Linked DNA regions of Homo sapiens: all the other regions are linked to region 5. The links are contacts of gene promoters, found by promoter capture Hi-C in blood cells and fetal thymus (Javierre and others, 2016). All regions are on one chromosome and are shown on one strand. The core of a region is centred on a gene start or on the middle of the fragment in contact, and the rest is flanking DNA. Distances in the headings are between cores, read along the strand shown. Region 1 holds the start of FXYD4 (FXYD domain containing ion transport regulator 4). Region 2 overlaps ZNF32-AS3 (ZNF32 antisense RNA 3). Region 3 holds the start of ZNF32-AS3 (ZNF32 antisense RNA 3). Region 4 holds the start of ZNF485 (zinc finger protein 485). Region 5 holds the start of TMEM72 (transmembrane protein 72). Region 6 has its middle 32 kb from the start of ZNF32. Region 7 has its middle 56 kb from the start of ZNF32.

Evidence for each region. Contacts are between HindIII fragments. The CHiCAGO score rates a contact against its expected background, and 5 or more counts as called.
Region 1: the fragment with the promoter of FXYD4 here is called in contact with the fragment with the promoter of TMEM72 in region 5 in 1 of 17 cell types (M0 macrophages); the score reaches 7.4 in M0 macrophages.
Region 2: a contact is called between a fragment that was not itself captured here and the fragment with the promoter of TMEM72 in region 5, in 16 of 17 cell types (M2 macrophages, total B cells, non-activated CD4 T cells and 13 more). The highest score is 15.2, in M2 macrophages.
Region 3: a contact is called between a fragment that was not itself captured here and the fragment with the promoter of TMEM72 in region 5, in 6 of 17 cell types (total B cells, total CD4 T cells, M2 macrophages and 3 more). The highest score is 7.8, in total B cells.
Region 4: a contact is called between the fragment with the promoter of ZNF485 here and the fragment with the promoter of TMEM72 in region 5, in 9 of 17 cell types (M0 macrophages, erythroblasts, total B cells and 6 more). The highest score is 12.0, in M0 macrophages.
Region 6: a fragment that was not itself captured here is called in contact with the fragment with the promoter of TMEM72 in region 5 in 16 of 17 cell types (total B cells, M1 macrophages, M0 macrophages and 13 more); the score reaches 18.9 in total B cells.
Region 7: a contact is called between a fragment that was not itself captured here and the fragment with the promoter of TMEM72 in region 5, in 11 of 17 cell types (naive B cells, total B cells, activated CD4 T cells and 8 more). The highest score is 13.3, in naive B cells.

The regions. Positions count from the first base shown.
Region 1 is chr10:43,369,637-43,373,437 of GRCh38, reverse strand. It overlaps FXYD4 (FXYD domain containing ion transport regulator 4), which reads right to left and starts at 1,802. Exons shown (of 9, transcript NM_173160.3): 1 at 1,741-1,802; 2 at 666-711. The HindIII fragment of the contact is 9,288 bases long and covers 1-3,801 here.
Region 2 is chr10:43,659,276-43,662,691 of GRCh38, reverse strand. The region is part of intron 1 of ZNF32-AS3 (ZNF32 antisense RNA 3); the gene reads right to left. Among named protein-coding and RNA genes, the nearest start is that of ZNF32, 12 kb to the right of the region's middle. The HindIII fragment of the contact is 3,787 bases long and covers 51-3,416 here.
Region 3 is chr10:43,627,825-43,631,227 of GRCh38, reverse strand. ZNF32-AS3 (ZNF32 antisense RNA 3) reads right to left here and starts at 2,411. Exons shown (of 5, transcript NR_038867.1): 1 at 2,250-2,411. It overlaps LOC124902416 (a long non-coding RNA gene), which reads left to right. Exons shown (of 2, transcript XR_007062132.1): 2 at 183-446. It also overlaps the pseudogene RPL21P88. The HindIII fragment of the contact is 5,917 bases long and covers 1-3,403 here.
Region 4 is chr10:43,604,994-43,608,404 of GRCh38, reverse strand. It overlaps ZNF485 (zinc finger protein 485), which reads right to left and starts at 1,967. Exons shown (of 5, transcript NM_145312.4): 1 at 1,859-1,967; 2 at 1,331-1,408. The coding sequence starts at 1,354. It also overlaps the pseudogene CAP1P2. RefSeq lists a silencer at 1,652-1,931 and an enhancer at 2,212-2,261. The HindIII fragment of the contact is 2,214 bases long and covers 241-2,454 here.
Region 5 is chr10:44,909,828-44,913,288 of GRCh38, reverse strand. It overlaps TMEM72 (transmembrane protein 72), which reads right to left and starts at 1,952. Exons shown (of 5, transcript NM_001123376.3): 1 at 1,707-1,952. The coding sequence starts at 1,776. The region is part of intron 2 of TMEM72-AS1 (TMEM72 antisense RNA 1); the gene reads left to right. The HindIII fragment of the contact is 1,552 bases long and covers 803-2,354 here.
Region 6 is chr10:43,678,684-43,682,448 of GRCh38, reverse strand. No RefSeq gene overlaps it. Among named protein-coding and RNA genes, the nearest start is that of ZNF32, 32 kb to the right of the region's middle. The HindIII fragment of the contact is 529 bases long and covers 1,356-1,884 here.
Region 7 is chr10:43,702,961-43,706,600 of GRCh38, reverse strand. No RefSeq gene overlaps it. Among named protein-coding and RNA genes, the nearest start is that of ZNF32, 56 kb to the right of the region's middle. The HindIII fragment of the contact is 639 bases long and covers 1,134-1,772 here.

The DNA of each region.
Region 1 (3,801 bases), core at 553-3,052, 1.5 Mb after region 5:
GGCGTTGTTAAAATCCATGCGACAAACCCACCCCCTACTCCTCCCCATGAGGAAGATACTATTATTGTCTCTATTTCAGAGAAGAAAAAAAAAAATGGAGCTTAGAGAGGTGTAATCAGATGCCCAGGGTCAGGTGGCTGCTATTCTAAGTCAGGGTCTGGAGCCTGCCTTCCTAACCCCACACAAAGGGCATTGTTATCAGGCCCCAGGCTATTGTTCCCAAAGGTCTGGGCCTGGGGTGGCCAGAGTCCAGCACCCTCAGTCTGAATTCCCAGAGAGCCTCCACAAAAGCAAGGGTGTGGAGGAGGGAGGGAGTGCTGAGTCCTGGGATGAGATGACTGCAGCAGCCAGGACCTCCCCTGCCAGCCCTGGCAGGGGACCCTACTCCAGCAGACCCAGATTCTGCTCTCAGAGTATAGACCTCCTGTGGTATGACATTTCCCCCTCAGGTTGGAAGTAGCCAGGACCCCATTTACTTGTCCTTAGGGAGGCTGAGTCTTTGAGCGCAGGCCCCCTCCCAGCCCTCTGCATATTGTTAGCCTAGTGTGGTCAAGTTTTCAATACTGAAGCCATTGTCATCATCTGCTGTACCCAGCTCTGGCCTCCTGATGAGATCACAGATCCAGGGCCAGCTGTCTGGGCTGGGTCCCTTCTTAGCAACTTACCAACTGTGTGACTCTGCAGGTTCCTCACTGCTCCTTCACCAGTGTCCTGTAAAAGGAGGATCATCAGAATAGTAGCAACCTCATAAGGTTATAGCGATGGAATTACGTGAACTACTATTTGTCAAGCCTAAGAACTATGCCTAGCACACAGTAAGCACTAAAAACCTGTTACAATAAATACATCCATAGGCCGGGCGCAGTGGCTCACACCTATAATCCCAGCACTTTGGGAGGCTGAGGCGGGTGGATCACCTGAGGTCAGGAGTTCAAGATCAGCCTGGCCAACATGGCAAAACCCCATCTATACTAAAAATACAAAAATTAGCTGAGTGTGGTGACAGGCGCCTGTATTCCCAGCTACTTGGGAAGCTGAGGCAGGAGAATCACTTAAACCTGGAAGGTGGAGGTTGCAGTGAGCCGAGATCCTGGCACTGCACTCCAGCCTGGGCAACAGAGGGAGACTCCATCTCAAAATAAATAAATAAATACATCCATAAATAAACACATGGTCCTTCTGCAGTGGGAGGGAGGCACTGGAGGGAGAGACTGTTAGGCACTGCTTCTGAACATCGGTTCTTGGGCTAGGAGCAGTCTCCAAAGCTGGCTTCCCCCAGCCTTCACTGGTCTCTCTACCTTCACCAACCTGGAGTTCCTGGAATACGAGGGTCTCAACTCTAGGTCACATTTTTTATTTTATTATTATTATTATTACTATTTTTTTTTTTTTTGAGACAGGGTCTTGCTCTGTTACCCAGGATGGAGAGCAGTGGCGTGATCTCGGCTCACTGCAGCCTTGAACTCTCTTGGCTCAGGTGATCTCCTCACCTGAGTATCTCAAGCAGTTGGGACCAGAGGTATACCCCACCAGCTCATATATTCTTTAGCCAAGGGCTGGCTTCTGTTTCCTCCAACCCCCAACCCACCATCCATATGATAGTGGGTGCAAAGCAGGAGGCCTTCAAGCGGCTGCTGCAGCCATATCTGTCCTCAGACCCCTCAACAGGCTCCTCATTACTCAGAATTCTTGGGCACCCACCCCCTTCACCCAGCAGCCCCAAAGTGGACGCCTGCTCACCTGCGAGGTCACCTTGGCGAGGGCTCACCTGAGCTGGCAGCGCAGAGAACGGATCTGAGGAGGCTGCTGGGCACGTGGGTCGGCTCTTTAAACCCTGCAGCCACGCCCAGGGCTCCATGACGCAGGCTGGAGGGAACTGGTCAGGCTCCCTGCCACACCCAGGGCTGTTGGGGAGGGGCGGGCTGGGCCGAAGACCCTCTTTTGGCTTCTTTTTTTTTTTTTTTTTTTTTTTTTTTTCTTTTTTTGAGATGGAGTCTCACTCTGTCACCCGGGCTGGAGTGCAGTGATGCAATCTCAGCTCACTGCAACCTCTGCCTCCTGGGTTCAAGCAATTCCCCTGCCTCAGGCTCCCGAGTAGCTGGGACTACAGGTGCACGCCACCACACCTGGCTAATTTTTTTTGTATTTTAGTAGAGATGGGGTTTCAATGTGTTGCCCAGGCTGGTCTCCAACTCCTGAGCTCAGGCAATCCGCCCACCTCGGCCTCCCAAAGTGCTAGGATTACAAGCGTGAGCCACCGCGCCCAGCCTTTCTTTTGGCTTCTTTAGCTCACCCAGATCCTAAAAGAGGGACCTGGAGGGTGCTGGGCAGGGTGTTCCTGGGCTCTTGTGCCAGCTTTGGGGGTTCTGGGACCTCTGTGTGGGGGTGTCCTGGGGACCACGGAGGATACCAGGAGCCAGGCACTGACCTTGAGGCTCCCTGTGCTCAGCAGTGCCATGCCACTGCTGTCACTTGGGCTGGGTGTCTACTGAAGGGAGGCTGGTGGCCGATGGGCACCCCCGGGGGTGGCTCACCCTCTGACAGGGCCCTGACACCCACTTAGCCTCCCCCACAGGTGAGGGATGGGGCCAGGAGGAGGATAGACGCCCCCGGCTGAGGAGTGGGCTGCCTCCCTCTGCAGACCTCAGGCCTGCCTTGTTGCTGGGGGCCAAAGTCACCCCACACAGGCGTGTGGAGGACCCCAGGCCTCCCTAGTCTGCTGTTACCCCTCCTTAATTCTTTTCCAAATGAGGGACACTTGTCCCTGTCCAGAAGGTAAGGGGGGATGGCTGACAAGGGATGGGGGTCTCTGGGCTGGGAGGGCTGGGGAGGGCAATGATGGTTTAGTTGGTTTGTTTGTTTATTTATATATTTATTTTTGAGCTGGAATTTCGCTCTGTCGCCCAAGCTGGAGTGCAGTGGCTCGATCTTGGCACACCACAACCTCCACCTCCCAGGTTCAAGCAATTCTGTCTCAGCCTCCCGAGTAGCTGGGATTACCGGCACACACCACTGTGCCCAGCTAATTTTTGTATTTTTAGTAGAGATGGGATTTCGCTATGTTGAGCAGGCTGGTCTCGAGCTCCTGACCTCAGGCGATCCACTGCCTCGGCCTCCCAAAATGCTGGGATTACAGGTGTGAGACACTATGTCTGGCCCAGACATACTTTTAAGTGGAAAAAAAGTATAGGGCAGTCTGAATAGGATGCTGTCACTTGTGTAAAAATATAAAATATTGGTTGGGAAAGGCGGCTCACGCCTGTAACCCCAGCACTTTGGGAGGCTGAGGTGGGCCTGTGTCTGTGTGCATGCTGCATGGGGCTTAGCACAGAGGAGGCGTCCCGGTGTTTCCTCAGCCAGCTGTTTACTTGAGTTCATTGCATATATGACTGCACCTAGCCCTCACAGAAGTCTTTGGAGGTTCATACTCTCATTAGCCTGTCAATCTACAATAGTCAAACAGGTTAGATTTTAGTTTAAAGGAGTTTATTTAAGTGTAAAGGTTAAGGATGGCCTGCTCAGGAAGTAAGGATGGTAAAGAATGGAAGTCATGGCTGGGGGCGGTGGCTCACGGTTGTGATCCCAGCACTTTGGGAGGCTGAGGAGGGCAGAACATGAGATCAGGAGTTCAAGACCAGCCTGGCCAACAAGGTGAAACCCCGTCTCTACTAAAAATACAAAAATTAGCCGGGCGTGGTGGCGCGCTCCTGTAGTCCCAGCTACTTGGGAAACTGAGGCAGGAGAATCGCTTGAACCTGGGAGGCGGAGGTTGCAGTAAGCTGAGATCGTGCCACCGCACTC
Region 2 (3,416 bases), core at 695-3,194, 1.3 Mb after region 5:
GTCACTACTGGGCTGTGCACTTAATTGCCAGTATAAGATGTTCCAAAGCTTTCTTATCTCTCTGCCATAGTAACTGGCACTGTAAAGATACTGGCTGCTTTGTCAGCTTGGGTTGCTGAATGTCTACAATGAGTAGAATTCCCTGCAATAGGATAGCATGAGAATGGAATAGAGAAGAAATACACCTTTTTGACTTGTCACTAGGATTTTACTGTTTTTGCTGCAGTATAATCTAATCTACTTTCACTGATACAACTTCTTTGGTGGTAATTTTTAGTGGAGATGTAATTTAGACACACAAAAAAATGCAAAACATTCATTTCAATATGCTTTGGTAATTATATTACTCCTGTGCAATCACTGTAAACAAGAGATGGTGCATGTCCATTACCCCAAGTGTTTCAAGTTCTTTCCAACTAGTCCTCCCACCTTCTTCCATCCCAGAGAAACTATGCTCTGGTGTTCTGATTTCTGTCATCATAGATTAATTTTTCTCTTCCTGAGCTTCATATAAATGGGATCATATTGTCTGTATTTGTGTCTTGCTTTCGTTCAATCCACATAATGTTTTTTTGAGATCAATGTATATTGTGCGAGTCAGGTGAGCATCCTTTTGTTGTTTGCTGACTACTATTCCATAGTATTAATGTGCCACAGTTTGTATATCCATTCTACTATTGATGGACATTTGGTTGTTTTCCCTTTTGGGTTATTCGAATAAGGCTACATTCTTGTGCAAGTCTTTTTGTAGACGTGTTTTATTCCTGTTGGCAAATACCTAGGAGTGAAATTTCTGAACCATAGGGTAGATGTATCTTGAAACTTATAAGAAATTAACAAAAGGTCTCTAAAGTTCTCCAGCCATTTTATACTCCTTTCAGCAATATTTGAGAGTTCAGTGCTATATATTCTTGCCTATATTTGGTTGCGTTGTCTTTTATAATTTTAGCTAGCCCAGACTGCTGTTAGCATTCAGTCCAGAAGCCCTCGGGAGAGAGGGCCTTTGCTTTCTTTCCCAAAAAAGTCTTCCTTAACAAATGGTGCTCAAGCACTGATTATTCACATGGAAAAAATGAACTTTGACCTCTACGTCACTACATACACAAAAATTAAAATGGGTTATAGACCTAAAAATAAAAGCTAGAACCATAAAGCATCTAGAGGATAACACAGGAGATTCTTAAAAAAAAAAAAATTAGAGTAGGCAAAGGGTTCTTAGGACACAGAAACATTAAATCATTAAAAAATGATAAATTTGACTTCATAAAAGTATTTCTCCCAAAATACTTGAGTTATAATTAATTATATTTGAGCACCACCATGCCAGGCTAATTTTCATATTTTTAGTAGAGACGGGGTTCCACCATGTTGGCCAGGCTGGTCTTGAACTCCTGACCTCAAGAGATCTGCTCACCTCACCCTCCCAAAGTTCTGGGATTACAGGTATGAGCCACTGCGCCTGGCTGATTTTCTTTGTATTTTCTAATGCTTTGATCCTTTTTATGTCATAATGATTTACCATATTTTGTAAACATTTTAGACACCAGAAAGTCCCCAGGCAGGACCTGATGGCTCACGCCTGTAATCCCAACACTTTGGAAGGCTGCAGTGGGAGGATCTCTTGAGCCCAGGAGTTTGAGATCAGCCTGAGCAACATAGTGAGATCCTGTCTCTACAAAAAAATTTACAAATTAGATGGTGTGGTGGTATGTGCCTATAGTCCCAGCTACTCAGGAAGCTGAGGTGGGAGGGTGGCTTGAGCCCAGGAAGTTGAGGCTGCAGTGAGCTATGATCTCCACTGCACCCCAGCCTGGGCAACAGAGTGAGACCCTGTCTCAAAGAAAGGCTCCAAAGTCAGAATCTATCGATGAATTCTGTTTTGTATTTTTGTAATTTCTACTTACCTTTGCCAGCTTGACTTTAATAATGGTGAGTCAAATTGTCTAACATATTTTGTCAAATTGCTCCTAACTCTACATCTTATGTCTTTATGTCAAAAAGTAACAAAATTCATAAAGTTTCAAAGACATTATCCTTAATATTGATAATAATTTTTGTTAAATGCTGTTTATACATATTTTGCCAATTGCAGTTGACTAAACCATGCCCTTTTAATATTAATATTGGTGTCAGTGCCTGTGATCCTATTTGGCAAAGGCTTTCTGGTTATTCTGCTGCTGCCCAATGCATATCCCGTCATGAAAGCCTGGTGAGTTGGAAGGAACAAGGTACTTGAGTCAGACCTGGGTAGAATCCCACATCGACTGCTCACTGGTTGTGAGATCTTGGATATGTGTGGTAACCTCTCCAAACCATGGAGGGAAGAACAATGCCTACTACAAAGGATGAAATTATAGATTCTATGCAGCAATGGCTACATACACACATCTGTGACCAAGAGCGACAGACGTGGACTGTTTCCAAGCCCATTTTTTAAATTATATTTATATTTGAGCATAGTGGTGCTCAAATATAAATATAATACCAAACCATCACTATGGTTTGGTATTTTTGAGACAGGTTCTCACTCTGTTGCCCAGGCGAAGTGCAGTGGCACGATCTTGGCTCACTGTAGCTCCGCCTCCCAGGTTCAAGCAATTCTCGTGCCTCAGCCTCCTGAGTAGCTGGGATTACAGGAATGCACCACCACGCCCAGCTAAGTTTTGTATTTTTAGTAGAGACGGGGTTTCACCATGTTGACCAGGCTAGTCTAGATCTCCTGACCTCAAGTGATCCACCCACATCAGCCTCCCGAAGTGCTGGGATTACAGGCGTGAGCCACCGCGCCCGGCCGCAAGCCGGTCTTTAGGGGATTTTGTGTATTCGTTATGGTTTGGAATTTATTGGGTGCCTAATATACACAATACTTGTATATTTTAGACAAGTCAACATTTAGAAGCCCATCCAGAAATCCAGAAAAAGTTCACACAGATGGTGCGGAGTGATGGAGAGAGAAGAAGGAGGTGGCAGATCTACTAAATGATTAACAGGAAAGCTGGAAGGACCCGTGTAGGGAAATCGTGGGAGGTGAGGGAGCCCCCGCCCCATTGGCAGTGCCTACCATGGACACCTGCAGAGCAGGCCCAGCTTTTCATCTTCCTTATCTATTTACTGTCTTGGGATAAGGGAGCCACATTCTTGTTTGCTTCCATCTTTTACTAAGGTCAGCCAAGAAATCAGCCCAGTTTTGATCCTAGAGTTATTATCCTAAAACAGTATCAGTCTCATTTAAAATATATCTAGGCTGGGCTCAGGGGCTCATGCCTGTAATCCAAGCACTTTGGGAGGCCAAGGTGGGCAGATCACCTGAGGTCAGGAGTTGGAGACCAGCCTGGCCAACATGGTGAAATCCCATCTCCACTTTAAAAAACAAAAATACAAAAATTAGCTGGGCGTGGTGGTGGGTGCCTGTAATC
Region 3 (3,403 bases), core at 230-2,729, 1.3 Mb after region 5:
TCAATACCCACATGAATTCTCTTGGCAAGAACTTGCCCTTAACTTGTGTGTTTACAACAATGCCGACGGCCTGCTGCGTAACACTGTAGACTCTTCCAGTTCTGCCATGATAACACTTGTGGGGCATTCCTTCTTGAACAGTGCCCACTCCTTTAATGTCTACAATATCATCTTTCTTATAGATTCACATATACGTGACCAAAGGGAACAACTCCATGCTTCCTAAAAGGCCTAGAAGACATCTACCAGGAGCCTCTCCTCTTTCCCTTTGTGTTTGTCATTTTGTCGAATTACTGGAAGACGGTGGTTCTGGCCAAAAGGGCCATAATAAACTTTTATTTTCTTGTTTCTGTGTTTTTCTATAATAAACATACATTATTTTTATAACCAAAAATGACCAACAACATACATTAATTTTCTCTTTAATAAACTTTATCTGATTTTCCCATTAAAGCTAAACATGCTCCTTACCACTTCCAAAGAAAAAGTTATACTTAAAAAAGCCAATAATCTCCCTACTCCAAAATCCCAAGTGTTACATCATTCCAAATAACATCACTCCAAAGTTACACACACACACACACACACACACACACACACCACAGTATACTGGTCGTGTGTATTTCTATATACTATTTGATATATATACTTACACAAACCATGGAATTTGAACATATTTTCTTATTTCATTCTTTTTAAACAAAAAAGGACCACTCTATACACATCGTTTGGAAGTTTAGTTTTTCTTTTTTCATTAATAAACGTATCTATCTTTACATTCTAGTAACATATTACTGCAAACTTAGCAGGTTGAAAAACACAAATACATTATCTCACAATTTTGCGTGGTTCTGAAGTTAAGGAGGGGCCAAGCTGGGAACTCTGCTCAGGGTCTCACCAGCCTGAAATCAGGTTGCCAGCCAAGCCGTGTCCATCTGGTCTTAACTAGAGAAGATCCCTCCTTAGCCCATTCAGATGGTGGCACAATGCATTTCCCGATGGCTGTAGTACTAAGGGTCCCAGCTTCTTACTATTAGCTGAAGTTTGCCCTGAGGTCCTGCAGGCCACTTAAACTTCTCTGCCACCACATGGCAGTTTGCCTCTTCAAGTCCAACAGAAGAGAATTTATCTTCCAAGTCTGCTAAGAGTCTGCTTATCTTCCAAGTCTGCTGAGAGTCTCCAGAGTCTTATATAACATAACCACCATAGGAGTGGCATCCCATCACCTCTGCCATATTCTATCAGAGGCAAGTCTCTGGTTATTCCCACAAAGGGAGAGGTTACACAAGGGCGTGACCCATTGAAGGTAACTTTAGTGTGTTACTTTTCTAAGGATTCTATAATAAAGTACAACAAACCAGGTGGCTTAAATAACAGAAATTTATTATCTGGCAGTTCTGGAGGCTAGAAGTCCAAAATCGAGGCCGTGCTCCCTCTGAAACTGTAGCGAGAGCCCCTCCTTGCCTGTCCCTAGCTCTGGTGGTTTGCTGTCAACCCTTGGCGCTCTTGGCTTGCAGCTGCAGGACTTCACTTTCCGCCTGTGCCATCACATGGCCTTCTCCCATGTGTCTGTGTCTCTACATTTCTCCACCTCTTATATGGACACCAGTCACATTGGATTAAAGGCCCACCCTATGCCACTATGATGTCATCCTAACTAATTACATCTGCAAAGATCCTATTTCCAAGCAGGACATGGTCTGAGGTACTGGCAGTTAGGACTTCAACATATCTTTTTGGAGGACAGAATTGAACCCATAACACTTGGGGTGTATCCTCCACGGTATCAAAAACATTCTTCTGCAGAAATACATATAAATCCAACCTAGTGGTTCCTGAGGACATCAGCATCACCTGGGAACTTATAGGAAATGCAAATCCTCAGGGCCTATCCCAGACCTACTGACCCCGAAACTGCGGAGATTGCGGAAAAGGGAGGGAGAGACAGCACACTGTGTTTTAACAAGCCTACAGCCCATTCTTCTTACCAGCTGCACAGTTTGACTCTCAACCCTACCAGACTCTCTAGGCAGACCCAAAACTCCCTTCAGGGCAATAAAAGAGCAGGAAGAAAATTCCAAGCAGCAGGTGGCCTGGATTACCCTACTCCTTACACAGGGGGTTGAGACAGTGCATGTCTGTCCTCCTTTTCCACGCCAAGTTCCTCATTGCTAGGGCTTCCATTCAAGAATCAATGCCACAGAAAACTAGAAAAGTCAACAAGGATGAATAAATACATGATTTCTTACCTAATTTTGATGTCAAGTCACAGGAAGGAGTACAGACAAGTCAACCATGCCAAAAAGGCCCCACACATGCAAACTCAAAGGAACATCTTCATCTTCCCTTTTATCATGGGCACAGGTCTCTCCCAAAGTCCCTTCCACACCATCCACCAAGTCCAGTTCACCAGATCACCTGTAGCCCTGCCCTGATTTTGTTTACTTTACTTGCATTTGGGGTCATTATGATGTCGTTGCCATAGGGTCAGGGACTTAGTGACAACAGAATGTACAATCCAGCCATGACCAAGACTTGTGTTTCTGCAGTGCTGAATCTCACCTTACTCTTAGAGAGCCTCATTCCTTTGATTAAAGAATGCAAATCACTCTACAATTCTGCTTGTTTTCTAATTTCTATCTCTTCCCAGTAATTCTGGCCAGCCTGCCTAGTTTTTCTTGATTTTACTGATTATACTCCTTTTATGTTTTCAGGCCACTAACCTCCCTAGCTTTGCCATAGTCCGAGATGGCGACTGTAATCAATACATCTCATTCAACACAAGCTACAGATGTGATGGAAAAACTTGTTTTACTATTACCGTAACCTTTCAGGAAGTTTCTTGGGGTTTTGCCTATACAAACATCTCATATAATCCTGACTATAGCCTGTTGTGACCCTGTCTCTGCTTGCTTCAAGGCAATACTCTCTCCCTCCCTCTTAACTCCAACGTTGAGTCTCTTGCCTTAAAGCCATTGTACACATTATTCCTCTTTGCAGCAATCATCTATCACCTGGGTCACCCCTTGAAGATTTTAGTTCCTGTATCATTATCACTCACTCCAGCTCTACTGTCATCACACTTGGAGTGCTTATAAATGACTCATCACTTTTCCTCCTTACTTCCAATGAACTTCCTCTCCAGAAGACCAGAGCCACTCACCTCCATCCATGATCATATTTGTAACTTCTGCATTATTAATCCAACAATGGTCTCAATTTTAATCATCTCATTTTCTGATTATCAACTCCTGTCTTTGCATCTCACTTCCTCTAGTGAACTAAAGCCAATAAATTGTCAGCTGCATCAATAATTCATGGATCCTGCTACTCTCCCACTACTCTTCAACCTTCCTTACCAGCTTACATTATATGGTCCCTCTTTGAATCAATCACCTGCTTG
Region 4 (3,411 bases), core at 718-3,217, 1.3 Mb after region 5:
GCCTCTGCTCACTCCACCCTTCATGTCACCTCATCAAAAAGGTCTTCTATTTCTCCACCCCATCCTCTGCCACTCAGTCTCGAAACCCATTTCACTTTTCTTCACAGGATTTCTCACCACCTGGCAGGAGAGGTTTGCACTGACTGTCAGCATCCTCTCTAATGTGAGCTCCAGGGGGACAGTGTGGGTCACTGCTGCCTCCCAGTCAAAAACACTGCCTGACACAGAAGTGTTCAAGCTTTATTCAATCAACAAATGAATAGAAACTTTGAAAAGACATGGAAAGTGATTAGCTTTATCCGAGAATTTACAGGGAGTATGATCTGACTCTGGGGCAGAATATTTTTAAAAAAGAAAAAAAAATTGCTTTTCATAAGAGTAACAACTTACTATGTACCAGCCACGGTGCTAAACCCTGAGATACATATCATCTCTCTAAATTTCTGCCGTAACTATATAAAGTAAAATCTATTTCGTAGCTAAAGACACAAAGGTTCAGAGAGTTGGAAGAACTTGCTCAAGGTCCCAGGGCTGGTTGAAGGCACAGTATAAAAGGAAGCCACAAAAAGTGGTAATGAAACTAGAACAAATTGGAATGGCTATGAAATACTAAAAGAAAAAATGAGTAAGCCTTAAAAAAATGAAAAGTGTGTTTCAAATGAAATTACTTGACTTAGAGCAGTAGAAATGTAGGTGATCTTTAATTTTTTTAATTTTATTTGTATAATAGACACTCAAATGTTTATCACTTCCTTTCAAAATACCAATTATTTAATCAGCTTCTCAAAATCCTTCAAAACCTAGTTTTCTCCAGGATAAAAGCAAACTCCAGTCTGGGATTCTAGACCATGAATGTTTCCAACTTTCTCAGACCAGTTTGTTCATGGTCCCGCCATAATGACTTCATTCAGGCAGCGCTTTCCCCTAGTATCCTCTGCAATTATGCAAATCTCATTTATTCTTCAGGAAGAACTAAGGCGCCCACTACTCCACCCCTCCCACCCTACCACACACTAAAGGTCAAGAGAGCACTGCTATCACCCTATGTCTTTATGGCCTACGTCTTTACATGCTAACGTGTATTTTTTTCATCGTCTGCCAGTTTGCAAAGCACTTTTCTGTTTCTAGCACTCTAGAAAACATGGGTAGCAATAATCTACTTGGTGAATGACTACGTAATGGGTAGACAGGACGGAAATCGCGGGACCCATCCAGGATTGGTTCGGGTAGCTTTGTCCACACACAGGGCAGGGCATTGTCCGGGCAAGAGGCATAAACCCCACCTCGCTGAAACACGTGGTTTCTCAAGAAATGGAAAAATCAAACTTGCCTGGATCTGGGCTCTTGGGGCCATCTGTCTCCTGAACTGTTCTCCCAGGCAAGGGCTGAGAATCCTGCGTAAGTCAATCTGGGAAAGAAGAGAGGAAATTGAGGAAGTCCCTCCGTGCCCTAGCCTAGCTAGAATCTGCCCTCTAGACCAGGTCCCCGCCCGCCCGTTCCCTCCACAGGTGGGCAGACAGGTCCAGGTGGGTACGCTCGGGAAGAAAGGAAAGGGAACGGCTGCTGGGATCCGGCCTGGACTGCAGCCAGCTCCACGCCAAACACTTTTGGCAGCACCGGGGGACGGCCTTGTCAGTGGCCCAATCTGTCGGCCGGGGCGCAAGGCTGGAGCGCTCTGTGATGCACCAGCCTCGAGCGGTCGCTCCACACGGCGCAGCCACTGCGGGTGGGCACTGCCCACCGCCGCCTTCCCCTCCCACCCCGGCTCGCCCCTCGACCCGCCCCTGGGAAAGGCGGGGAGCACCCGCCAGGGGCTCGAGGCTTCAGGGACCCAGCCTGACCCCGGCCGCTCACGAACCGAACCGAGCCGGCAGGGCTGCGGAGCTGCACGCCCAGAGAGTCAGCGACCACACCACGCCGTTCGGACAGTAACCACCAGCCAGGGGCTGGTGCAGCGCTCGCACCACGCGGAGACAGGCTGGACCGGAAGCGGAAGTGGCTGAGGCCGCGGAGGCCTCTGGGAAACGTAGTCTGGGCCGCTTGGGGTCTTAGGGGCTCCATCCGCAGAGCAGGTTGGCATCACCTGGGAATCTTTGAAAAGTGAAGGTGCGGGAAGTGGAGAGCGGCTGATCGCAGTCGGGAGGTGATACATTATGACTGACATGCAAAATCTGGTAAAAAATTGGACAGGGCAGTGGGCCGCCTGGAGGCAGTATCCCATACCTCTGACATGCACCGTGGATATGGAGATAGTCCTTCAAAAGCAGGAGCAGCTCCATATGCGCAGGCATTTGACTCGCTGCTTGCCTGCCCTGTGGCAGAGTACTTGAAGATCAGTAAAGAGATTGGGGAAGACGTGCAGAAAGATGTGGAGATGGTACACACAGTTTTGAAGTTGGAGTGAGCTCTCTTGGTTACAGCTTCTCAGTGTCAATAGCCGGCAGGTAATAAGCTTTCCGATCTGTTGGCACCTATCTCAGAGCAGATCAAAGAAGTGATAACCTTTTGGGAGAAGAACCGAGGCAGCAAGTTGTTTAATCAGCTGTCAGCTGTCAGTGAAAGTATCCAGGCCCTAGGCTGGGTGGCTATGGCTCCCAATCCTGGCCCTTATGTGAAAGAAATGAATCATGCTGCTGTGTTTTATACAAACTGAGTCCTTAAAGAGTACAAAGATGTGGATAAGAAGCATGTAGACTGAGTCAAAGCTTATTTAAGTATATGCACAGAGCTGCAGGCTTACATTAAGGAGTTCCATACCACCGGACTGCCTGGAGCAAAACGGGGCCTGTGACAAAAGAACTGAGTGGACTGCCATCTGGACCCTCTGCTGGATCAGCTACTCCTCCCCCACCACCAGGCCCCCCTCCTCCACTAGTCTCTGTCAGTTCAGGCTCAGATGAGTCCGCTTCCCTCTCAGCACTGTTTGCGCAGATTAATCAGGGGGAGAGCATCACACATGCCCTGAAACGTGTATCTGATGACATGAAGACTCACAAGAACCCTACCCTGAAGGCTCAGAGTGGTCCAGTACGCAGTGGCCCCAAGCCATTCTCTGCACCTAAACCCCAAACCAGCCACAAAGAAGGAGCCAGCTGTACTTGAACTGGAGGGCAAGAAGTGGAGAGTGGAAAATCAGGAAAATGTTTCCAATCTGGTGATTGATGACACAGAGCTGAAACAGGCGGCTTACATATACAAGTGTGTCAACACGATGTTGCAAATCAAGGGCAAAATTAACTCCATTACAGTAGATAATTGTAAGAAACTTGGTCTGGTATTCGATGATATGGTGGGCATTGTGGAGATAATCAACAGTAGGGATGTCAAAGTTCAGGTGATGAGTAAAGTGCCAACCATTTCCATCAACAAAACAGATGGCTGCCATGCTTACCTGAGCAAGAATTCCCTGGA
Region 5 (3,461 bases), core at 703-3,202:
AACTGTGGGATTCTTGGCATTTTACAGATTTGGAAACCAAAGCCTAGAGGGAGCAGGGTGGACTCAGATCAACAGACATGGAAACCTATTTAGGGTGGCCTTCCTCTCCCCAGGATGGCTTTTTTGCTTGTTGGGGGTCTTGGCCATCATTCTCTTATGTGTAGACGACAACGTGGTTCTGAAAGTGGCTGGATCTGGCTCCTCCCTCAGTGCCTCCACTCAGAGCCTCAGCAGAGCAATTCTGAACCTCTTCCTGCTGCCTACTCTGGAAGACAGGGAAGGTTTTGGCCAGAGCCCTGGCCTTTGTGAAAGTTGAAGGACCAGGGCTCCGGGCTGGCTGTCCCTCTGACCATGACCTTGGGCAAGGTCACCACCTGCATTTGAGCTCAGGTGCCCCATCCTGTAGCAGGAGGGGTGGGGTTAAACCATCCAGCAGCCCTTCATGATCTAACTCATGGCCTAGATGCTGGAAGAGCCCACTGGCCAGCTCACGGCTGAACCCAGCCCAGTGCTCCTGAAATGACCCAGCTTCCCATTGAGCTCTGGAGTGTGTCATGGGGGCTTCTGCTGAGAGGTTTTCATCCTCAGTTCCACTTAGCCATGCTCAGTTCCTGCATCCTTAATCTGTCCAAACACCTGGCCAGCAGGTCCCCATCATACAGATCAGAAAGTGCAGCCTCAGAGGGGTCAGGGGCTCCCCAAGGTCATATATCACGCAAGTGACTAGGCTGGGGCAGGAACAAGCACTATGTGATTTTGACCTAGGAGAACTTTCCCATTTGGTAAGACCCGTGGGTAAGCTTTTGCCCAGTGGTGGGGAAGGGCTTTGATAGGGGGTGTGTCTCTCTTTGTCCCCAAGGGACAATGTGGCTCAGAGTTAAGGGCTCAGAATTCTGCCTGTTCATTTCCCCAAAACAGATCCTGGCTCTGTAGGGGGAATGGGGCTAAGGGTCAGGCCTGCCCTGGGGAAGCGAGCAGGCAGGGCTCAGGATGGTGGCTCTGGGCTCTGCTCTAACAGTCTGCCCTCCTGTCCAGTTGAGCAGCCCTGTGATTCTGCTGGGTGAAGGAAGGAGCCCAGCATCTCTGGGAAGCATCTCTGCTGCTAAGACCACAGTGCATTCCTGCAGTCAGACCTCAGACAGGGGTCTGGGTTCCTACAGGGTGTTCTGTTAACAGGGTCCAGCATGGGCCCGAGGGAAGCCTGTGATCTCCACGTCCAGCCAGGCTCAGCCTGTCCCTCCAGGGCAGAGCTGCTCATGACTGGGAGTTCTCTCTCCATGAGGTAGGGCTATGGTTTGAGTAAAGCAGGATGAGCTCAGTTGACCTTTTGTAGATACACAGCGAAGCCCAGCCCTTTCTATCTTCACCTTCTGTCTCCACCTCCATCTCATGACAACTCTCTGCGTAGGTGGGGTGGCCCCTGGAATCATTTTGCAGATGAGGATCTTGAGGCTTCCCAAGGTCACAGGGAGGGTGACTTGCCAAGCAAAGATCCAGCACCCAGCCCTCTGGTCCCCAGCCCTAGGCTCACCCCACTGCACTTGCTGCTGCTCTACAGAGCAGTGTTTCTAGGGGTCTTGGGAAAAAAATTGAAGCACAGAAGTGGCCAGATGTGCCTGCTGTCTCCTGGCCACCTCCCACCCCTCAGGCAGCCCTATCTGTGGTGCCAGTGTGCAAGGATCAGCAGCCAGGAGGCAGGGTCTTACCTGCAGCAGTGGTGATGCCCAGGAGCCGGCAGGTGTATTCCAGCCCAGTCCAGAACACCTGGAGCTGCATGGTGCCAGGGGTGAGGACAAAGTCCTGGCAGGGCAGGCAGCAAAGTCTTCGGCCCTGAGATGCTCCCGAACACCCTTGTGTAGGTAGGAGGCTGCTGGCTGTGGCTGCACACCGGGGCCCTGCCTTCCCAAACCAGTCCTGGCCACCGCAGCCTGGCCGAGGTGTGAATAGGGCTCACCTTCTGTGCTCTCAGCCCGTGCCCTTGCCAGGCACTCAGCTTAATCATTACCTTGGAAGAATGCTCCTGCTGCTCACACAACCCCAGCCTGGGCTGGAGCCGCTCAGCCCCAGCGCAGCCCAGCCGCCTGAGATCGGCGATTAGGGCTGGGCTGGAGGCAGTCTGGAGCTGGCAATTAACCGTTTCTGGCTGGGAGGAGGGAGCCAAGGAGTGGGCCAGGCCCTTCCTCACCAAGCCATGCCTAGAAAGTCACACCTGGATTTCACACTTGCTGGGGGCCTGTAGTGTCTGGCTCTGGAGGGGACAGTGCTCTTGCAGGTCTGTGCTTATGTGCATATGGGAGAGAGGAGTGTGTCTTTAAATCACCAGTAGAAACAACTTTTGAAATGAGTTCCAAGCTTTATTCTTCTGCGTATAGGTGGATTAGAAAGCTTTTCAAATCTGTCCCGGATTTGGACTCTGACTAGACATACTTAGCTCAGGCCCCGCCACGCAGAGGCCTTCCTTCCTCATTAACATGCATCCCAACATGGGACGTGGGAAATCATTTTGATTCTTTGTTTTGCGAGGGGAGTTGCTATGTCAATAATTAACCGGGTGACCTTGGGGAAACCCAAAGGCATCTGTGAGCCTTGGTAACTTTTGCAGAAAATAAATGTGAAGTTTTGGCTGAATTGGTGTTTTTGATGTACTTGGAGTGTCCCTGTAGCTGTTTCAAGGAGCCCAGCCTTTACACTTGGACAGTGGTGGGCTTTCCCTCATTCTTAATTTACTAACGGATGTGCTAGATTGAATGGTATTAAGATTTATCTCTCAGGTGTTTTTCTGAAATCTTTTACCCCTTTGCTCATATAAGATAGAAAACAAAACAACCAAATAAGGAAAAAAACTCCAAGCAAACCCAATACACATGCTCCTCAACTTATGATGGGGTTATGTCCCAAAAAACCCATCAGACATTGAAAATATTTTAAGTTAAAAATGCACTTAATCCAACCAACCTACTGAACATCAGAGCTTAGCCTGGCCTACTTAAATGTGCTCAGAACACTTAGTTTATGGTTGGGCAAAATCATCTAACACAAGGTTTATGTTATAAAGTGTGGAGTAGCTCATGTAAGAATATATTGTAGGGCATGTTGCTAGCCCAGGAAAACATCAAAATCCAAAATTTAAAGTACAATTTCTACTGAATGTACATCATTTTCACACCATCCTAAGTTGAACCATGGAAAGCCAAGGTCTGCCAATAATAACGGAAAACTCAAGAACAATTAGTTTGGCCCTTCCCTCCCCTCCCTTCCCCTCCCCTCCCTCCCCTTCTCCTTCCCCTTCCCCTTCCTTTCTTTCCTCTTTTCTTTTTTTTTTTTTTTTTGAGACAAGGTCTTGTCTGTTGCCCAGGATGGAGTGCAGTGGCACAATCTTTGTGGCCTCAACCTCCCAGGCTCAGGCGATCCTTCCACCTCAGCCTCCTGAGTAGCCGGGACCACAGGTGTGCACCATGCCT
Region 6 (3,765 bases), core at 371-2,870, 1.2 Mb after region 5:
TCTGAGCTCTGAATCTGAATATATGTGTCTCCTCAATATCTCCCATCATAAGTCCAAGGGCCTTTCTTCCAGAATATGCAAACCTGACCTCATGGCACTGCCAATTGCTTCTCTTCCTGGGTTCCTATCCCAGTGAATGGCACCTTATCCATCAGCTGCTGAAGCCAGAAACTCGGAAATCATCTTCCATGTCTTCTTTCCCTCACATTCCCCAATATGCACCATCAGACATCTAGTCTATCCCTAAACCTAGTGGATTTTTCTCTCCTAAGTTGTACTTTTTCACCATTACTTCCCTAGTACCAGCCACCATCAGCTCTTGCCTGAGCTGCTGTGAATCCTCTGTTGCACACCTTTAATCTGCACACCTCTAACCCTGCAGTCTAAATTTTCAAAGAACAAAACTAGCCACAGCCCTGGCTGACTATTGCTCCCAGAATAAAAAGTTGGCATCCTCAATGCAGCTGCAAGACCCCACCTGATTAAGTCCCTATGAGTTTCCCAAACCTCATTTTATGTCCCTCGGCCCTCAGGCTCAGCGCTCCAACCACTTGGCCCTTCGTCCAGTCCTTGAACCCACTGGGCTCCTTCCTTCCTCATAGCCCATGCTGCCAGGTGCCACGACCCTGCTCCACAGAGACAGAGAGTTCTTGTGCCCTCGCCTGCAGCCCAGGCTAGAGGCTCCACATGTATCACTACACCTAATCCTCGAAACAATCCTCTGAGGTATGTGTTTTTATGCACATCCTATAGATGGGAAATTTGAAGTTCTGGGGATTTAGGAAACTTTTCAAGGTTTACATATCCAGTAAGTGATAAAAGTAGAATTCAAATGTCAGCCTGCTTGGCTGCAGCGTCCGTGCTGTCACTCCCTGCACTGTGAGGGAGACACCTGCAATGGTTGAGAGGACCATGGTGGAGGACCAGGAAGGATGGGCTTCATTGAGGAAGAATCAAGGCCCCAAAACACCCATTCCTGGAAAACTACAGGCGACAGGACCTGCAGGGATGGAGGAGGAAGCCAAGCCAATAACAAGGCTGGCGCTCTGCCTGAAGCATCTGCTGTGCTCCTTCCTCTTCCCAGGGCCCCAAAGGGCTCCAGTGATTGTCCCCACAACTCATGAGGGAGTCCACGACTAACATACTTAACAGTATTTGATAGCTAGTGGATAATTTTCTTATCATCAAGGAAATTATCGAGATAATTCCACGTCCTCATCACTATCACACATTTATAAAGTGTCTTGCCAAGCACAGAGAGGAAATTGGTTTTTAAAAATAAAAATGCTTATTGAGCACCACTGGATCCAAAGTTTTAGGTTGTCAAGAGATGTGATCCTTATTCCTGTGAAGCTTAAGTACCCATTGGGGTGTGTTCTGGTTATCCACAATCATGGAACAGACAAATCCAAACTTAGTGGGTAAAAACAGCCACTGCTTCTTTATGTCTCATTTTTTTGTGGCTGGGGAAATTGGGCAAGGTTTGGCTGGGTGACTTCTCTGTCCCACATGGCACTGCAGAGATCACTTGGTGGTATTCAGCTGGCAAGCAGGCTCTTCTGGAGGGACCAAGCTGACCTCACTGACACATCTAGTGACTTGGAAGACATGGGGGATGGCTCAGCCAGGCCTATCCATCAGAGCTCTATACAACAGACTACTACCGAGCAGTAAAAAGACAAATTACCGATCCATGCAACAAGCTGGCTGAATCTCAAAGGCATTACACTGAGTAACAGAAGCCAGTCTCAGAAGTTACATACTCTATGATTCCATTTATATGACATTCTCAAAGCAGACAAAACTATAGTCATGGAGTGGGTACCAGGGGCTGGGGGTGAAGGAAGGGACAGTGTGACTATAAAGGAACAGCATCAGGAAGCTTTGGGGGAGATGGAACAATTCTGTGTCCTGATTGTGGTGGAACAGCCCATTCCCAAAAGGTCACACTTACTGCATGTTAATTTTAAAAATAAAATAACTTTGAGTCAAGTAACAACTTCTTCTGTACTGAATACATGAGCACAGAAGTAATTCTGAATAGAAGTCTGAGCAGTCTGTGCTAGGGACATGATGTGTTGAAGAAGTGCCTCAGTCCATTGTGTGCTGCTATAACAAAATACCCGAGACTGGGTAGTTTATAAAGGAGAGAAATTTCTCTCACAGTCTGGGGGCTAAGTGCAAATTAAGGCTCCAGCATCTGGTGACTCATTCTTGCTGAGTCATCCCATGGTGGAAGGTAAGAGGGCAGGAGAGGATGAGAGAGGGTAGGGGAAGGCAGAAAAGGCAGGGCAAACACCCTTTAGTAAGGAACCCACGCCTGTGATAACGAACCCACTCCCAAGATAATAGCGTCAATCCATTCATGAGGGCAGACCTTCCTAAAGGTCCTGCCTCTTCATATTGTTAAAATGGCAATTAAATTTCAGCATGCACTTTGGAGGGACATTCAAACCATAGGTGGAAGTGAGGAAGGAATCCCTACCATGAGCCTCACCCTTCATCCAGGGCTCACCCGGTTGACTCCATTCATCCCAGCAGAACTCTGGGGAGTGGAGCCATGGTGAGTCCTGTCATGTCCCAAACAGGCATGAGGAGAAAGGCACAGAAAGACTCCGAACCTAGGAGAAGTCCGGGCCAAGTCAGCATGCTCTGGTTTCCCCGCCTCCTGGTTACCAGAGCTCCTTGGGCCATGCCAAGTCAGCATGCTCTGGTTTCCCCGCCTCCTGGTTACCAGAGCTCCTTGGGCCATGCCAGCACTTGACAGCAGGCACCGGGACACCAGCCAAAACTCCTCAAAACCGCCTCCCTAAGTTGCACTTGTCAGCAATTAAAACATTTGTCAAAGAGTATTTAATCCTAGTGTTATAAAGTGCTATGGCAAACAGATTTGGCTCGATATTTTTAAAAGTTCTGCAAAATGGCTACTCCCAACTGTAATTCAATTATGTTACTATGGCTTTAAACAAAAACAGTAACTAAAAAGATCATATTTTGATGTACCAGGAAAAAGTCATTTGGAACCACAAAGTCATCAATACTTTTTTAAAAATAAAAATAAAAAATAAAAATAATAATTCCAACTATAGAAAGGATCCTTAAAGCCAAGCCCCAGAAACCTCATTAGTCAAAGGACAAATACAACACACAGGATAGCAGAGGTCACGGCACTTACACCAAACTGTGGAAGAGACTGCGTTTTCTTGGGAGACCTTCAACTCCTTTTACCTCCCTTTCTGTTCACCACATTTGGCAGGGTTTATCCCCTTGAATTAGGAGTAGTGTGAAAACCAGTGGTTATTGTAAATCCAGAGGTTGTCGTAAATCCAGATCATAGACAGATATTTCCATCAGTCGAAATGTATGTGTGAGTAGGATTTAATTTACATGAAAGGGTGTTTGCCAAATGTTAACAACTGGTGGCCTGAGACGGTGCTGGGAGGTAGCAGGAAGCGAAGTGCAAGGCTGAGGAAGACCCTCTATAAGGGCCAGGGCCTGTGCAGAGACGTGGCGGGCAGCATGGAGATGGGGAGACAGAGCAGGCAGAGGAACATGGCAGACGGAGGAAGATGGCTGCGAGCAGAGAACATGGCAGACGGAGGAAGATGGCTGCGAGCAGAGAACATGGTGGGCAGACAGGGAAGATGGCAGCAAGCAGTGAACACAGTGGGCAGGAGGGGGCGTGGTGGGCTTGGAAAACGTGGCATCAAGGATGGAGAACTTGGTGGGCAGGGAAGATGGTGGGTGGTGAATATGATGGGCAGA
Region 7 (3,640 bases), core at 204-2,703, 1.2 Mb after region 5:
TTTATCTCCCACTCGCCAATCTCAGAACATGTTGTTCAGGCCAAAAGGCTCAGAATCTTCCTGAATTCCTCCCTCAGGCCATGAGCACAGCCCACATCAGCCCACAGCCCCCTGCCCTGGGCCCCGGCACGTGCCAGCCCTTACAGCCTGCCCCACACGCAGCCTCAGAGGGTCACTTTTCCACTCGTACCCTTCAACGGTGTCCTGTGGCCCTAAGGACAAAATCCATGTGCCCACCATGGTGGCCAGGGCTCTCTGGTCAGCCTTTGCCTGCCTCTCTGCCCACATATATGCCTTCTGGCCCCACATCAGCTTCCTTTCAATCAGGGCCTTTGCCCTCACCCCTGCTGCCTGGAAACCCCTCCCTGAGGGTGAGTGGCAGCCTCACACTGCGACTGCTGTCACCTCCTGGGCATCCCCTGACCACTGTGAGCAGCCTCCGCTCTCTCCATCCTCCCTATCAGCACCTTGTGCTATTTTTTTTTTGTAACTTTACTGTTGTCTGAAATCATCTCACTGATTTCTTTGTTTTCAGCCAGGCGCGGTGGCTCATGCCTGTAATCCCAGCAATTTGGGAGGCCGAGGAGGGTGGATCACTTGAGGCCAGGAGTCTGAGACCAGCTTGGCCAACATGGTGAAACCCCCATCTCTACTAAAAATACGAAAATTAGCCAGGCATAGTAGCACATGCTTGTAATCCCAGCTACTTGGGAGACTGAGGCAGGAGACTCATTTGAACCCGGGAGGCAGAGGTTGCAGGGAGCCGAGATCACACCACTGCACTCTAGCCTAAACGACAGAGTGAGACTCTGTCTAAAAATAAAAAATAAAAAATCATTGTTCTCTAGCATACTATTTAGGAAGTGCAACTCTAGAAAACCAGGAGCTCTCTTTGTCTTCATCCTTGGCTTCTGAACCTTGCCTGGCTTAGAGACATTTCTCACTCATCAGAAATTAAAGAGCCATGTCATGGTTACCAAGCTACAGTTTTTGTTCATTATGTATCTTCAGTCTTCATGCTGCTTTCTGGCTCTTTCACCCAAACTGACAACAAGGTAGACTTTTGTGAACTGACCTTCCCATTCCTGAGTTCCTGTGGTTGATTATTCTCTCAGTTATAACACCATAAAGCTTAGCATAATTCCAGAGCCCTTGCACGTAAGAAGGGATTTGCTGTCTTAATATACAAAGTCAAATTGGGGATAAGAAAATGATTTCTCTGAAAATGGAGACATTGCCCTACTGTCTTCTGCAACTTGCTGCTGGGAACGGGTCTGACATCCTCCTGACAAGCAATTTATTCATTTCTGAGCAGCATGTGCTCTCAGATTGAATGTTTCTATACCTGTTTTTAATTTGTCAATTAAATTACCTATTTTTAATCACTGATAAAGTAATGGATATAGCTTTGTTTTTTAGAAAATTTGCCTTATACATCGTTATGTAAGTCAGTCTCTAGACCAAGCACTCTTTTCTCCCAGCTCAAGAAAGTTTTCAAATGTTCTATCCTTCATTATTGCTTCTTTGCAGTTATTTCTCGTTCTTCCTCATGATAGGCCATGTTATTCGAAGACTGCTTCTCCTTTTACTAGCCTCCTTGATGGCTGTATTTTTTCATTGCTTTCATCCCTTTGTCCTTTTCCTGTGGATTCTATGAGAGCAATTCGAATTTGCTCTACTGACTGGAATGTGTTTCTAGGGCTTCAGTTCTTTCCTTTATGGCCACTGTGGAGCGCTGGGCTCTGCTGTTGCAGGTGGGCACCTTTGAAGCTTTTCCTCCTGTCTGGGGTGCTTTTCACTTGGGCTTGTGCCTCAGCCTCTGCATTATCTGAGCTCCTCTAATAATCTTATATCCCCATTGCTCACTGAGAATTTGAAATATGGATCTTTAAATTCTTTTTTATTTCTTCCTAAAAATATTTTTTTCAAACACTGTATTTTCAACTATAGTCAGTGTATTCGGTTCAGAAGATGTTCATTGGTTCCATTGGTCCGTGCTCCATAAAAACCTTGTTACAGAGACACACAGCACACTTTCACCCTCTTGCCACCCTGGGTCCCCTGGCTGAACACCCCTTGAAGAGCTAAAGCTGGAAGGCACAGTGGGTTCACCCCCAGTCCCGATGTCAGTGCTTTGGAGACAGGCACTCATTGGGTGTGGTTGGCTGGGCTGAGGAAGGCAGGTTCTCTGACCCACTTAGGGTCAATGTATGCCCTTGTGAATACAGGAAGGGGCTTATTTTGTTCCACCAAATAGGCTACACGGAAGAAAAAGCCATGCCAGTCCTCCCTCCGCCCGGCCAGCAGCATTGTACCTTCGGGGACCACATGGTTCAGGACTCAGTGGGACATGTCCTCCCCCTTACCTCCCCAACATTGCAAACCAGCAGGGAGGAGGAGAGGCAAGGCCCAGGCTCAGGACAGATGAGCAGCAGTCCCTGCCCCAGGGGAGGGTAAGGTGCTCTCAGGGCTCTGCCAGGTTCAGTGATGGCCACTGGGCCACCAGGCCCCTTCTCACCTACATGCCTCTGGCCAACTGAGCCACTAACAATGAAAATGTCCTCAAATGTGCCCGAGAGTGTCTCATTATTTTTGAAGATAATGGAAATCCCTCCCAAGGCTAACAATTGTTGACACTGTTCCTGTGCAGTTTTTGTGTTGCTTTTTGGCTGTTTTCTGTACTTTGATGTGTATTTTAAGAACAAGTTGGAAGAGAGATTACTCAGGGCTACAATAGCCTCAGGTCACCGCTAGTGTCCTTCTCCTTGAATCCCCATAACATGGAGCCCAGAAGCTGGCACTAACAGATTCTCAGTAAGAATAGACAAATGAGTCGTGAGTTTTGGCTGAGATATTTGGGACTGGAAACTGATCTAGACCCAGGCTGGGATGGATCTAGGGCAGGGATTGGGCTGTAACAGGTCACAGGGAGTGGGGGACGTCAGAAGCCTCTGAAGGCACAGACACCACCTGAACCGAGGCAAGAGGCAAGTCCCGCGTGCAAACCAGGCTGCCCAGGAAGTACAGGGCTGGACGGCAGGACCTCAGTTGTCCGGAGCAGGAGCCCCACCCCTGTGGAGCTGATGCGAGCCACCACGCATCAGGGGGTTCAGGGATAGTGCAGGTAAAGGTGGAGCTGAGTGTCTCCAGCTGCTGCCTGGGCCTCGGGGCACAGGAGAGACCCAGACGCTGTGGCCACGCCTCCAGGGCCCCTGGGCAACATCTCCACCTGTGAACCTCCAGCCTTCGCATGCTGTCCTTGGCCTGCAGGGATCCCAGACCCCCACTGACAACAAGCCTTGCTTCTGCGAGGCCTGTTGCTGCCACGGCTGGTCCTAGTTCTAGGCATGAGATTTTGCCCTAAACACCTTTCTCTTCCACCTCTGGACACTCACAGTGGGATGGGGGAACTGGAGGACCTCCCTGCGCCCGGTGTCTTCATAAAGCAGAGCTTCTTGGGCCCAGGCCCCTCGGTCAGCCGCCCCCAGCCGCGCCTGCTGAGCGAGCACCAGCACCAGGAGTCCGGGCGTGCGTGGGAGTCGCCGTGACCAGGCGAGCCAGCATGGCCAAGGACCCTACCGTCCTCCTATTGCAGAGCGTAGTGACGCGAGGCCAGAGCTGGGCTAGAATAAGTGCCCGG